Linked DNA regions of Homo sapiens: all the other regions are linked to region 2. The links are contacts of gene promoters, found by promoter capture Hi-C in blood cells and fetal thymus (Javierre and others, 2016). All regions are on one chromosome and are shown on one strand. The core of a region is centred on a gene start or on the middle of the fragment in contact, and the rest is flanking DNA. Distances in the headings are between cores, read along the strand shown. Region 1 overlaps TRIQK (triple QxxK/R motif containing). Region 2 holds the start of RUNX1T1 (RUNX1 partner transcriptional co-repressor 1). Region 3 overlaps TRIQK (triple QxxK/R motif containing).

Region 1 (3,478 bases), core at 455-2,954, 850 kb before region 2:
TGATTGAAATGGGGTCTTGAAGGGTGCCTATGAATTCAAGTTAGACAAGGCTAGGGCTGAGCAACATTGAAATAAGTATAATAAGATTTGTAAAGCTATTAAGCTGTCAATGGGTTCTTGTGATTGGAAAATCAAAAGAAGTTTAGTGATTGGGGCCTAATCTAGAGAAAAGTGGCTAGAGTTGAGGCAGTATGAACCTGCTGGCAAAGGCTGAGGAGGCTCTTATATGACATGCAAAACTATTTGCATCTTGGAGGCAATGAGGATCCATTTCAGGTTTTCAAATGGAGAGCAACATGATCAAATTGGTATTTTGAAATGGTTCTGAAGCTTTTTCAAATACTGTACCACACTTTCTAAAGTTCTTTAATTCTATGATTATACTTTCATGGAATAAAAGTTGTACTGAGGTATACACAGGTTTTCCTTTAAGGGGGAATATATAAACAATCCCCTAGTTACCCTAGGAACTTACGTGGTAGGTAAACTTATGTGAGCAGGCTGTTAAATAAACGTAAATCATTAAACTTTTTTAGAATATTAAGAAGTTACTTATAAAGTAAAAACGTAATCTGTTCTGGCTTCTCCTGAGTAGATAGAACTAACTGCTTTAAGACAAAACATAATGTATATGCTTGCATACTGCACCCCAAAAACTTTATGAAAGTTTGAGATGATAGAAGTTTAGTTATAGACCACTTGAATATATTTAGATTTTCTTTGCTTAGATATTTAAAACCAATGTTTAAATTAACACTTTGCATTTCTTCTACTAAAATTAATACGTTTGTTTGGAATGCCTTTGTAAAATTTAACTGAAAACATATCCCCTTTGAACCTTGATTTAGATATATAATGAAAATAGTTACTCAGATGATATTGTCTTATATTTATGTAGATCTTTATATTTGACACATTTTCATAAAAATACTTCATTTCATTCTTACTTCACATATATATGTGTATATATGTGTATCTGTATGTGTATGTATACGTAAATATACATATATTTTATGTACATACATTAATTTTATGTATACATACATGCATATGTATATTTATATACATACTTACATATATGTATATATGGTTATGTACACATGTATGTATATGTAAAAAGGCTCTTACTCCATTTTACAGAGGTAGAGTCTGTAGTTCTGGTGAGTGGTCTGAACATACTCTAATACATAGAGGAAAGAGAGTAAGCTCTATAATCAGATAGATTTGAGTTCTAATCTCTGCTACTTTCCCTGTCAACTTTGCATGCTTGGGCAAGTCAGTTAATCATTAGGAAACTCAATTTCCTCAGTTGGGAAATTGTACCTGTCATGCAGAAATGTTATGAAAATTTGTGGTATGTGATGTGCTTACCACAGTGTTTGCCACAGTAGTTGCTAGTCAACAAATGCGTAGCTGCTATTATTACTAATATTAACAATCATCATTAATAAGGCTCCCAACAACCATCACTTGCATTTTCAAAATCCAAAAGTTCTTCAAAATTAAACTTTGTCAAGTTTTTTACAAACTTAATTGAGACAAAAAACAGACTTGAAATGACATGGGACTATTTATGTAATTAAATGGCATAAGATTTTTCTATGAAGTATTAATATGCTTCCCCCACATCCTTTCAGGAGTGTTATGTAATTATGGTAGATGAGGTTTATTACATTTTTATAATCTAAAATCATTCAAGACATATCTGGCCCAAACATTTTAGATAAGGACTGTAGAGTTGTATTTTTATGACACTTGTATTTTAATAACAGCTTTATTGAGCTATATTTCACAATCATAAAGTTTATCATTTTAAAGTGTATAATTCAGGAATTTTTACAATATTCCCAATATTGTGCAACTATCTAATTTCAGAATATTTTCATTATCTCAGATAGAAATTCTGTACCCATTATGTCAGTTCCCATTCCTTCTGCCTCTGCACCCTTAAGCAACCACTAATCTATTTTCTTTCTCTATTGACCTTCCCATTCTGGACATTTCATATAAAGGGAACAATAAAAGTTATGTATTAAGTGGACTTTTGTGACTGACTTCTTTCACTTAGATACATGTTTACAAGTTCATCCATGTTGCAGCATTATCAATATTTCATTCTTTTTAATATTCCACCATATAGATATATACCACATTTATATACCTGTTCATCATGAGTTATTTCTACTTTTTGGCTATTAGAATAATGCTGCTATGAACATTCGTATATAAGTTTTTGTGTGGAGATGTTTTCATTTTTCTTGGATATATACCTAAGACTAAAATTGCTGGTCACGTGGTAACTCCGTGCATTTTTGAGGAGCTGCCAAACTTTTCAAAGTGTGGCTGTAACATTTTACATTTCTACCAGCAATGTATGAAGATTCCAATTTCTCCACATTCCTTATCTCCACTTGCATTTTTTTAAAATAGCCATCCTACTAGGAGTAAAGTGGTATCTCATTGTGGTTTTTATTTGGATTTTCCTAATGACTAATGATGTTGAGCATCTTTTCATGTGCTTTTTGGCAATTTGTATGTCTTCTCTGGAAAATTGTTCAAATACTTTGCCCATTTAAAAATTGTATTATTTGATCTTTTATGTTGAGTTGTGAGAGTTCTTTATATATTCTGGATATAAGACTTTTATTATATATATGGTGTGCAAGTATTTTCTTCTATTCTGCAGACTGTCTTTGCACTTTTTTGGTCATGTTCTTTAAAGCATAAAATTTTTATTTTAATGGAGTTCAATTTGTCTGTTTTTTATTTTGTTGCTTGTGCTATTGGTGTTGTATCTAAGAGACTATTTTCAAACTCAAAGTAATAAAGTTTTATTCCTACGATTTCCTTTAAATGTTTTATAGTTTTAGTCTTTGCATTTAGTTCTGTGATTCATCTTGAATTAAATTTCGTGTTTGGTGTGAGGAAGGGTCCAACTGTATTATTTTGTAGCACCTTTGTTAAAAAGGATTATTCTTTCATATTATTACTCTTGACTTGTATTGTTAACACTATTTAAAAGTAACCCCAAAATTGCTATTTTTAATTATCTCATTAGAATTAGTAAAGTAAAGCTTGTGTTCCCAAATAGTTGGGGTTAAATTTTAAGTTGGTATTATTATTAGATCCCAGTTTGGAAATACTTAAATTTTATACTCTTATCCATATGAGAGCAATTGCAGTGTAAAACTTGACATAAGTTCATTGCCTGACATTTAATATGTATTTGGTAAATATTCACTGAACAAAAATGAATAAATCATGCATTACCTGCTTATTATTCCATGTTGCTTTTAAAATGTGCATTTAGAAAGTAACATATACTTAAACATTTACGACTGAATAAATACAATTGTTTTTAAAGTCAACCTTGTGCAAATTAAAATAACAGAAAATAATTTTATATCAGTATTTTTACATTTATGCTTGACTTTAGAAAACAGTGGAAGTATCTCCTGCTACTTTTCAGATAATTGTT
Region 2 (3,970 bases), core at 1,240-3,739:
TTATTATTCATCCTGTCTCCTTGGATTTTTTAAAAAATCAATTAATAGTTTATTTTGTTTTGAACATTGTCATGTGTATCTGCCACCCCAAGTCTAAGGTTAGCCAAATATTTTATGGCCCTGTACTGTTTTCAGGTAATTCATACTCTCGCACCACACGGTATCAACCAGTTCCTCCCTTTTCATTTAATATGTTTTATTTTCCTAGATTTTGCAATTCAAGAATCATCCTATGCTTGAGTTGGCCCCTATAGTTATTATTTGCTCCAAATAAAGGAGTTAGGAGATAATACGAGGATAAACCCTACAGGAAAATATGTTCTACATTTTGTAGAACACAGGCCTTTCAAGGAGGTAGCAAGTGGGATTAAGGAATATATTGAATAATCTTTATACATCAACTCAAGGATACAGGTTCTTCCACTGCTTTTATCAGAATTTGGAAAACAACTCAAGTTGTGATATATTCTATCTGATATAAAACCAAATCGAGAATTTTTAAGAAGTATAACTAAAGAATGATCATTATTTTTCCAGAAGTATGACTAGCAAAAAGGAAGATCCTTTAAGGTTTGTGGCATCTTACAAAATATGCCTTGGTGTCATGAATGTATCTTGATTGTGTACAATTCTGATTTGATTTCCTGCAAGTTACTTTTCATTGATTTAGAAGTTCAAAGTTTCTACCATAATTTTACACCTACACTGGCACAATTTACAGACAGAAGAAAAATGCAGCTAACATTTCTATTTTATTTCTGTCCCTGCTTTTTTATATCATAAAACTATTGCTGATTTACTTTTTCTATATTTTAAATTATGATTTTAGAAGTAACACTATTTCACAAGAATCATTCCTGATTCAGGTATCACTTTTTAAATTTTAAATAAAGATGACTATATGCCTCCAGAATCCAAATTATTTGGTTTCAATTTGGGGGACAGAAGAGATAATACAGGTAATAGAATAATAAAATGTCAACATGATTTTATTCTTTTAAGAACAATAGTAAGCTTTGACATAATTTTCTACACAAAGGAGTTATATTAGTATGGTGTACATAAAATTTTATAGTTTAAGATTATTCATGCTATTAAGATTTGCGACTATAGCAAAATATAAAGAACTGTAATACAGAAATTATTATAGAATGTACACCTTGATAAAATGAGATTCAAATTAAGAGCATCATAATATCAAATACCAAGACTTAACATTGCAATTCATTAATCTATTATAATTCATTAGACAAATGTCCCAAGGAGAGGGGAGAATGTACAATGAGTGTTTTCTGGAAATGAATTGCTAAAAATTAGTAGAGTCTGAAAAGACTTCAGAATTGGAAGCTCCAGCTGGGTTTAAAAGGATGGGGGAAGGGATTTTACTCACTATTAAATATTTGAAACACCACTTCAGAAAATAAAACCCACAAATGTCTCATCAGTTCTCAACTGCATCAGACCGACTCAGACTCTATCTGATGCCTTTTTTCCTTTGTAAAAATGAGATTTTAAAACACGTATTCAGGACATCTTACATTGATTTAGGCTAGTTGGAGAAAACATGGTTCAGAGTAGGATTTCAAATAGTTCCACTAAATACAATAACATTTGCAGTCAGGGTACCGTTCCATAGTAATTTTAAAAGATTTCATTTTACTTATCATTGCAAGCCATTATCTGATCATATTTGACCTACATATTAATATTTTCATTATTATTCAAGCCCTTTTTGGCTCTGTACAAATTGTCAGTCCTCTTCACCGAGATTATTTATTTACTCTGGAAATATCTGGAATTCTTTCACCCTATCTTTTCCTCCGGGACTACCCCCCACACTGCCCCCAAGTATTGATATTAATGTCTGGGGGAGGGGGACACATCTAACAAAAACCTGAGATAGAAAGCCGTCCCTCTTAATGGTATACTATGGGAGAAGTAGAAAAACAAAGAGAATAAAAGAAAATGATAATTGTTTTCTCTAAGGCTATTATCTAATGCGAAAGCAAATAGTCAGTCTGGAAATCAGCTAACAGAAGGGGATTAGAGAGGAGATCTGAGAGTGGCTTGATTTCTAGCAGAGCTGTCTCTTCAGCCAGTGATGAGACACAGGCAGGGCAGCCGGGAGCGCTCCAGATGGCCGGGGAAAGTGGTCGTCTTGGGTTACTGCAGGGCACTCGGGCCGCCTGAGAGCTGGCGGCCCGGGAAGGCATCATTAGGGAGCCAACCCCACGTCCAGCCTGCATGGGAGAGGGCGAGGCCGGGAGGGAGGCCGCCCGCCAGCCCGCGCGCCCTAGCGTGCCGGGCCTGCCCATTGTTAACATATACTTGACCTCCGTGACCCCCGCACAACACAGATGTCTCCCACCTCCACCTCCCCCACGCCCCGCCGCGGGTCCTCCCCCCTGCACCTGGTAGCGGCCGCGCAGCCGCCTCCCTCCCGACCGGCCGCGGCGCCCCTGGCGCGAGCGTGCGCCGGAGCCGGCCTGATGCGGGCGCTCTCGGCGCACAGCGCGCGGCGCTCCTGCTCCCCGGCGGACGCCCGGCCGCCCTGCAGATAAATGCGTCGCCTTCCTCGAGAGTGAGCGAGGGCGGGCGAGGGAGACGCAGACGCCGCCTGTGACAGTGGCAATTCCCTGCGCCCCACATCACATTTGTCTGCCACAGCAGCAACAACAGAAAAGCGGAGGGAGGGAGGGAGGCGGGAGGAGGGGAGCAGAGCTCCGCAAGTCTTGGGCTCTGCGTGGAGGTTGCGTTTGGCTGGCGTCCCCGACCCCGGGCTTTTTGCACGGCAGCTCTCTCTGCGCAGCGCCGGGCGGCCGTAGTCGCTCCGCGGCGCGACTCCGCGGTCTCGTGGCGAGCGCGCGTGGGCGAGTGGCCGCGGACACTCTGGCCTCGCGAGGGAAGCCGCGCCGCGTCCTCGCCCCGTCGCCCCGCGGGCCGGCCGAGACGACGGGAAGTTTTATTTGCAGCTCGGAGCCTGTGGCGGATGGTGGGACTCTCCGGCCCTGTGCAGTGTAAGTGTCCGCGGTAGGGCTTGGCCGGCGGGCGGGCGGCGGGGTCGGGCCCCTGACTGTTATTAATTACTGTTCCGATGACCGTCATCTTCGTTTGGATTATTCGACCGCGAGGCTCCAGGCTGTACTTGTCGCTCAATTAGGGTAGGACTACGCACCAGGGCAAAGAGGAACATCGCGGGTGACTCCGGTCTGCGATGACACTGAACTTCGCGGGTCAGCCGAGGATGCAGTTTTTACTATTATATTCCCCACAGTGTCTTTTAAAAATAATTTTTCTTCCCTCTCCATAGTCACGGTATGCGAGCAGGAAGATGACGAGTGGGTTTCTCCCCCGACAAAACAACCGATCGAGGTGCCCACAGTGCATTTGGCAGGTGGCCCTATGCCCGCATCGTGGGTTTTTTTCTTTTCCTTTCTTTTTTTTTTTTTTCTTTTCTTTTTCTGTAAACTGGAAGCAAAGACTTGTTTTGATGGTGGAAAACTTAGCCCTAAGGAGTAAAGAGGCGGGATCTTAACTTTGGGACCCGGCTGCAACTAGGGTGGGGGTTTGCTTAGAGGTACCCAGGCGCTCTGCGCCTGCCTGCGAACTTTCCTTGTTACTCCTGGCCGTTTGGGGTGCTGGACTGGGAAGCTCCTGGGTGAGCGGGCGGACGGCGGCTCCCGCCCGAGGCTGGTCCCGGGCTTCGCAGTCAGGGGCCGATGGGGAGAGTCGTCCCCGCCCGACCTCTGCGCGCTCTGGACTCAGCCGCCCCGGCCCTCCTGGGTGTTCCCGTCGCGGCCCCGACTCGGTGCCCGCTTCTTCTGAGTGGGGAGCACAACCTTGTGCCCTGTAGCTCCCGCCCGAAGGGGTCCAGACTTGGAGCCACGTCCGGATAATTCCTTTCGTTTTCCAGAAACCCCTCTGGTGAAGCCCCCGGGCCAGTGGAGACGCGCTCCAGGGCCCGCCGCTC
Region 3 (3,605 bases), core at 883-3,382, 830 kb before region 2:
AGCGATCTTAATTGTACTTCCTCATTCCTGCTATATAACCACAGAATTTGGCGTTTATCATTTGGGTGCATGTGTGTGTGTGTGTTGGTATAGGTATATTTTTCCCTAAATAATATTGACTATTGATTTTTCATGTTTTAAGTTGTTTTGTAAGTGTATAAATACATGTGTCTTTGTTCACACATTTTAACTGCTTTATATTTCACTTATGAATAAATTATGTAGACATACAGAGTTTTATTTTCCTTTTTTGCTGTTATTAAAAACATTTTCAGTGAGTGTACTTACTAGTGTTTTTGTGCACATATAGAATTGTTTCCCTAGTTCATATAACTAGCAGTTGATTAATGGTTCTTGTAGGTACATAATCTTTAATTTTACTGGGTATTGCCACATTGCTCCCTCAAATATTTTATTAATTACTCTTCTTAACTTATTGTAATAATCTGAGCTCCTATAACAGTTCAATAAGTAGTCATGCATATACTTTTAGAGGTATTCCATAGTATTTATAGCTGCTTTATAGATTTTGTTGCTATACTAAATTAGAATTTTATATATAAACTTTATATATCATAACCTGGCTGAGCTCTTACAAATAATTTCATACAGATTCAAATATTTGTCTGTAGTTTCTCTCCACTTTGCCACCTGGGAGTCATATTATTTGTGAATCATAATGTTTTCTTTTTCCTTTCCAATCCCCTATGCTCTTTCCCCTTTTGTCTTACTGTGCTATCTGGATGTCTCACTGCAATGTCTTTGTCTTGCTTATGATTTTTAAAAGAGAACTTTTAATTTTTCTCTATTTAGGATAATCTTTGCTTTGTTTGTTTGCCTATGTATCAACAGGGTAAAAAGTTCTTTTCTATTTCTATATACTAAATTCCTTGCTTTCTCCTTCCTGCCTCCCTCTGTTCATCCTCTATCTTTCTTCCTTCTCTCTCCCCCTGTAATAATGAATGGGTATTGAATGTAACTTTTATTTTTCTGTATTGATTGAGGTCTGTCAGTATTTTCCTCCTTTAATCAGTTAACAAGAATACTACTAAGATAATATCTAATGTTAAATTGCCCTTTCATTTTTGTGATTAGCCCAGCTTCATCATGGAATATTTTATCATTATGATTATACATACTGGATTTGGTTGTCTAATATTATGTTTAGGATTTTTGTATCTTTGTTCATAAATAAGATTGGCTTGTAATTTTTCATTCTCATAATGATCTTGCCTTGTTCTCATTTCAAGATTCTATTAGCCTTATGAAATGAGTTGAGAAGTGTGCCAATTTTTAGGCTTCAAAATAGTTTAATATTTTATATACCTGATAAAGCTTGTTGTAGGGATTATGTGTTCCTTGAATGGTTAATAAAACTTCCTTGTTGACCATTTAATCTTACCTGTTTTGTGTGTGTATGTCTTATTTTTTAAGGGTAGATTTTTAAACATTGATTGACTTAAAAAATTATAGTTCCACTGAATTTTATTCTATTTGATCTCTACCTTCTTCAGCTGCTATTGGTAAGTCTGTTTTTTAAGAAATGTGTTTTAATTTTTAAATTTATTGATATGGCATTTTTAATAGAATCTTCTTGTTATATAATGTTAATCTCTGCTGAATATTGAGTCTTTTTTTAAATATCTAATACTGTTTGTGTATTTTTTTCTTATTCCGTCAGGACAAGAGTTTGTTCCATGTTATTATTTTTCAAAGGCTCAGTTTTTGTCTATGTTGATCATCCCTTTTGACTCTGTTTTTTAAATTTAATTATTTATTGCTTTTAGTTTATGACTTTTTGTAATTTGAAGGGCTTTATTCTTTTTCTATTATTTCCTTTTTGGTTCATTATTTTTCAATCTTTTGTCTTTTCTAATTTGTGCTTACTTATCACTTTAGCTACATTACTAATTTTTCAAAACTTTCTGTTGATGCATAATACTGTACATAAAGGAACGTGCACAAAACAGAATATGTAGACGGTGAATTTTCACAGAATGAACACGCTTTTAACCAAAACCCTGATTATTTTATTTTAGCAATAATTTCTAAACATTTGCTGTTGAAGTGTTTTAATATTTGTAGTTCACAACATTGATCAAGTTGGAATCTTTTATTATCTTGAACAGTTTATTCAAAAGTATATTTTTCGTATTTTCATTTGCTAGCTTTTCTTTGTTATTTTTTGTGAGACTGAATACTCTTAAAAAGGCCGACAATTAACTATCAAGCAGAACTTTGACATCTTTTTAAATGAAATACCTTATGAAAGGCATTACAGATTTGATAGAGTGGGAATTAGGGAATAGGAGATGGAAGATAAAAAGCTGGCACAAAGTAGAACTTCTGGTTTTTTGTTTGTATTACAGTTTAACTTGGGAAATTCTTTTCTCCATCAATCCATTGTAACAGGAAATCTACTTATGCTTTTTCGTATTGTACTATTCCATCTATTTTTACTTATTTATTTGTTTCTACATAGTAGAGTTATATTAGCTAATAGCCTAGTGCTTATTTCCATTAACCTTTTTCCATGTTGTTTTCTCAATTTTTTAAGCTCAAAAATCTTTATTGTATTTCTCTAGTGGAAAAATTCGGTGGTATTTTAAAAGCATAATTTGCATCATAGCTGATAAATACATGTTATAATACCACAATCTGTTTGAAAACTAGCAGTCTGCAAATACTAACAAAGTGCTAATGCTATAATCACCTGGGACTTCGATATAATGAATGCGTTTAGTACAACTTCTATGAAATTGGATATAGACCAGTTGTTTTTATACTTTTGACATTTAATTACTAATAAAGCTCTTTTAAATAAGTCATACAGCATTTTGAAGCTATTACATTGGAAGCAAAATTTCCATAAAGGGCCTTGTTATTGTTGTCTTGAGCTCTTTGTTTCCTCTTATATACTTAAGCTTATTTCAGTACACATAATTTCCATTAGTTTTAAGATATATATGCTTAAAAGTTATGTACTTATTGTTAGTTCTGTCTTAATATTTAAGGATGTGTTTCTCGGCATGAAAATAATTACCCTTAGCCTGATACATATGCTTATGTATTCTATGTTTTTTAAACTGGAAGAGAGTTTAGCAATTGTGTAAGAAGGGAAACTGATTGACTTTGTCAATGTCATCTAGTCTTTCATTGAAAAGATGTGGCTAAGGTTTTATGCCTTCTTGTCTGGTACATTTCCCTACTATTCTTTATTTAGTCAAGGGATAATCATTGAACGTCTTTTGGAAACTATCCATGTACCAAACTAGAACTTGCTTTTTCAGTTCACCATTGAAATAGCCACCATTACAAAAATAATAGAGGTTTTTATTTCTTTCACACTTTCTCTCCTGCTCTCTCTGTGTGGAACTGAGTGACTTTCCCTAGTCACTTAAGGATTTTTTTGTTGAATTTGGAAACCTAATTACTTGAAATTGATAATACACATAGAAATGACTAAAAATTAGCATAAGTGATGCTTGCCGCTAAAATAGATCAAGGAGATTCAGTGAGTGATATGTTATCTGTGTACTTTATAGTCAGAAGTGTGAGAATCATTGTGTTTAAACCTTAGATTAAGTGATGAATCAATATACAGA

The links. Contacts are between HindIII fragments. The CHiCAGO score rates a contact against its expected background, and 5 or more counts as called.
Region 1: a fragment that was not itself captured here is called in contact with the fragment with the promoter of RUNX1T1 in region 2 in 1 of 17 cell types (erythroblasts); the score reaches 6.4 in erythroblasts.
Region 3: a contact is called between a fragment that was not itself captured here and the fragment with the promoter of RUNX1T1 in region 2, in 1 of 17 cell types (erythroblasts). The highest score is 6.2, in erythroblasts.

What each region holds. Positions count from the first base shown.
Region 1 is chr8:92,954,848-92,958,325 of GRCh38, reverse strand. The region is part of intron 1 of TRIQK (triple QxxK/R motif containing); the gene reads left to right. Among named protein-coding and RNA genes, the nearest start is that of TRIQK, 9.6 kb to the left of the region's middle. The HindIII fragment of the contact is 2,744 bases long and covers 333-3,076 here.
Region 2 is chr8:92,101,904-92,105,873 of GRCh38, reverse strand. RUNX1T1 (RUNX1 partner transcriptional co-repressor 1) reads left to right here and starts at 2,489. Exons shown (of 12, transcript NM_175634.3): 1 at 2,489-3,017. The HindIII fragment of the contact is 6,982 bases long and covers 1,017-3,970 here.
Region 3 is chr8:92,933,780-92,937,384 of GRCh38, reverse strand. The region is part of intron 2 of TRIQK (triple QxxK/R motif containing); the gene reads left to right. Among named protein-coding and RNA genes, the nearest start is that of TRIQK, 31 kb to the left of the region's middle. The HindIII fragment of the contact is 1,589 bases long and covers 1,338-2,926 here.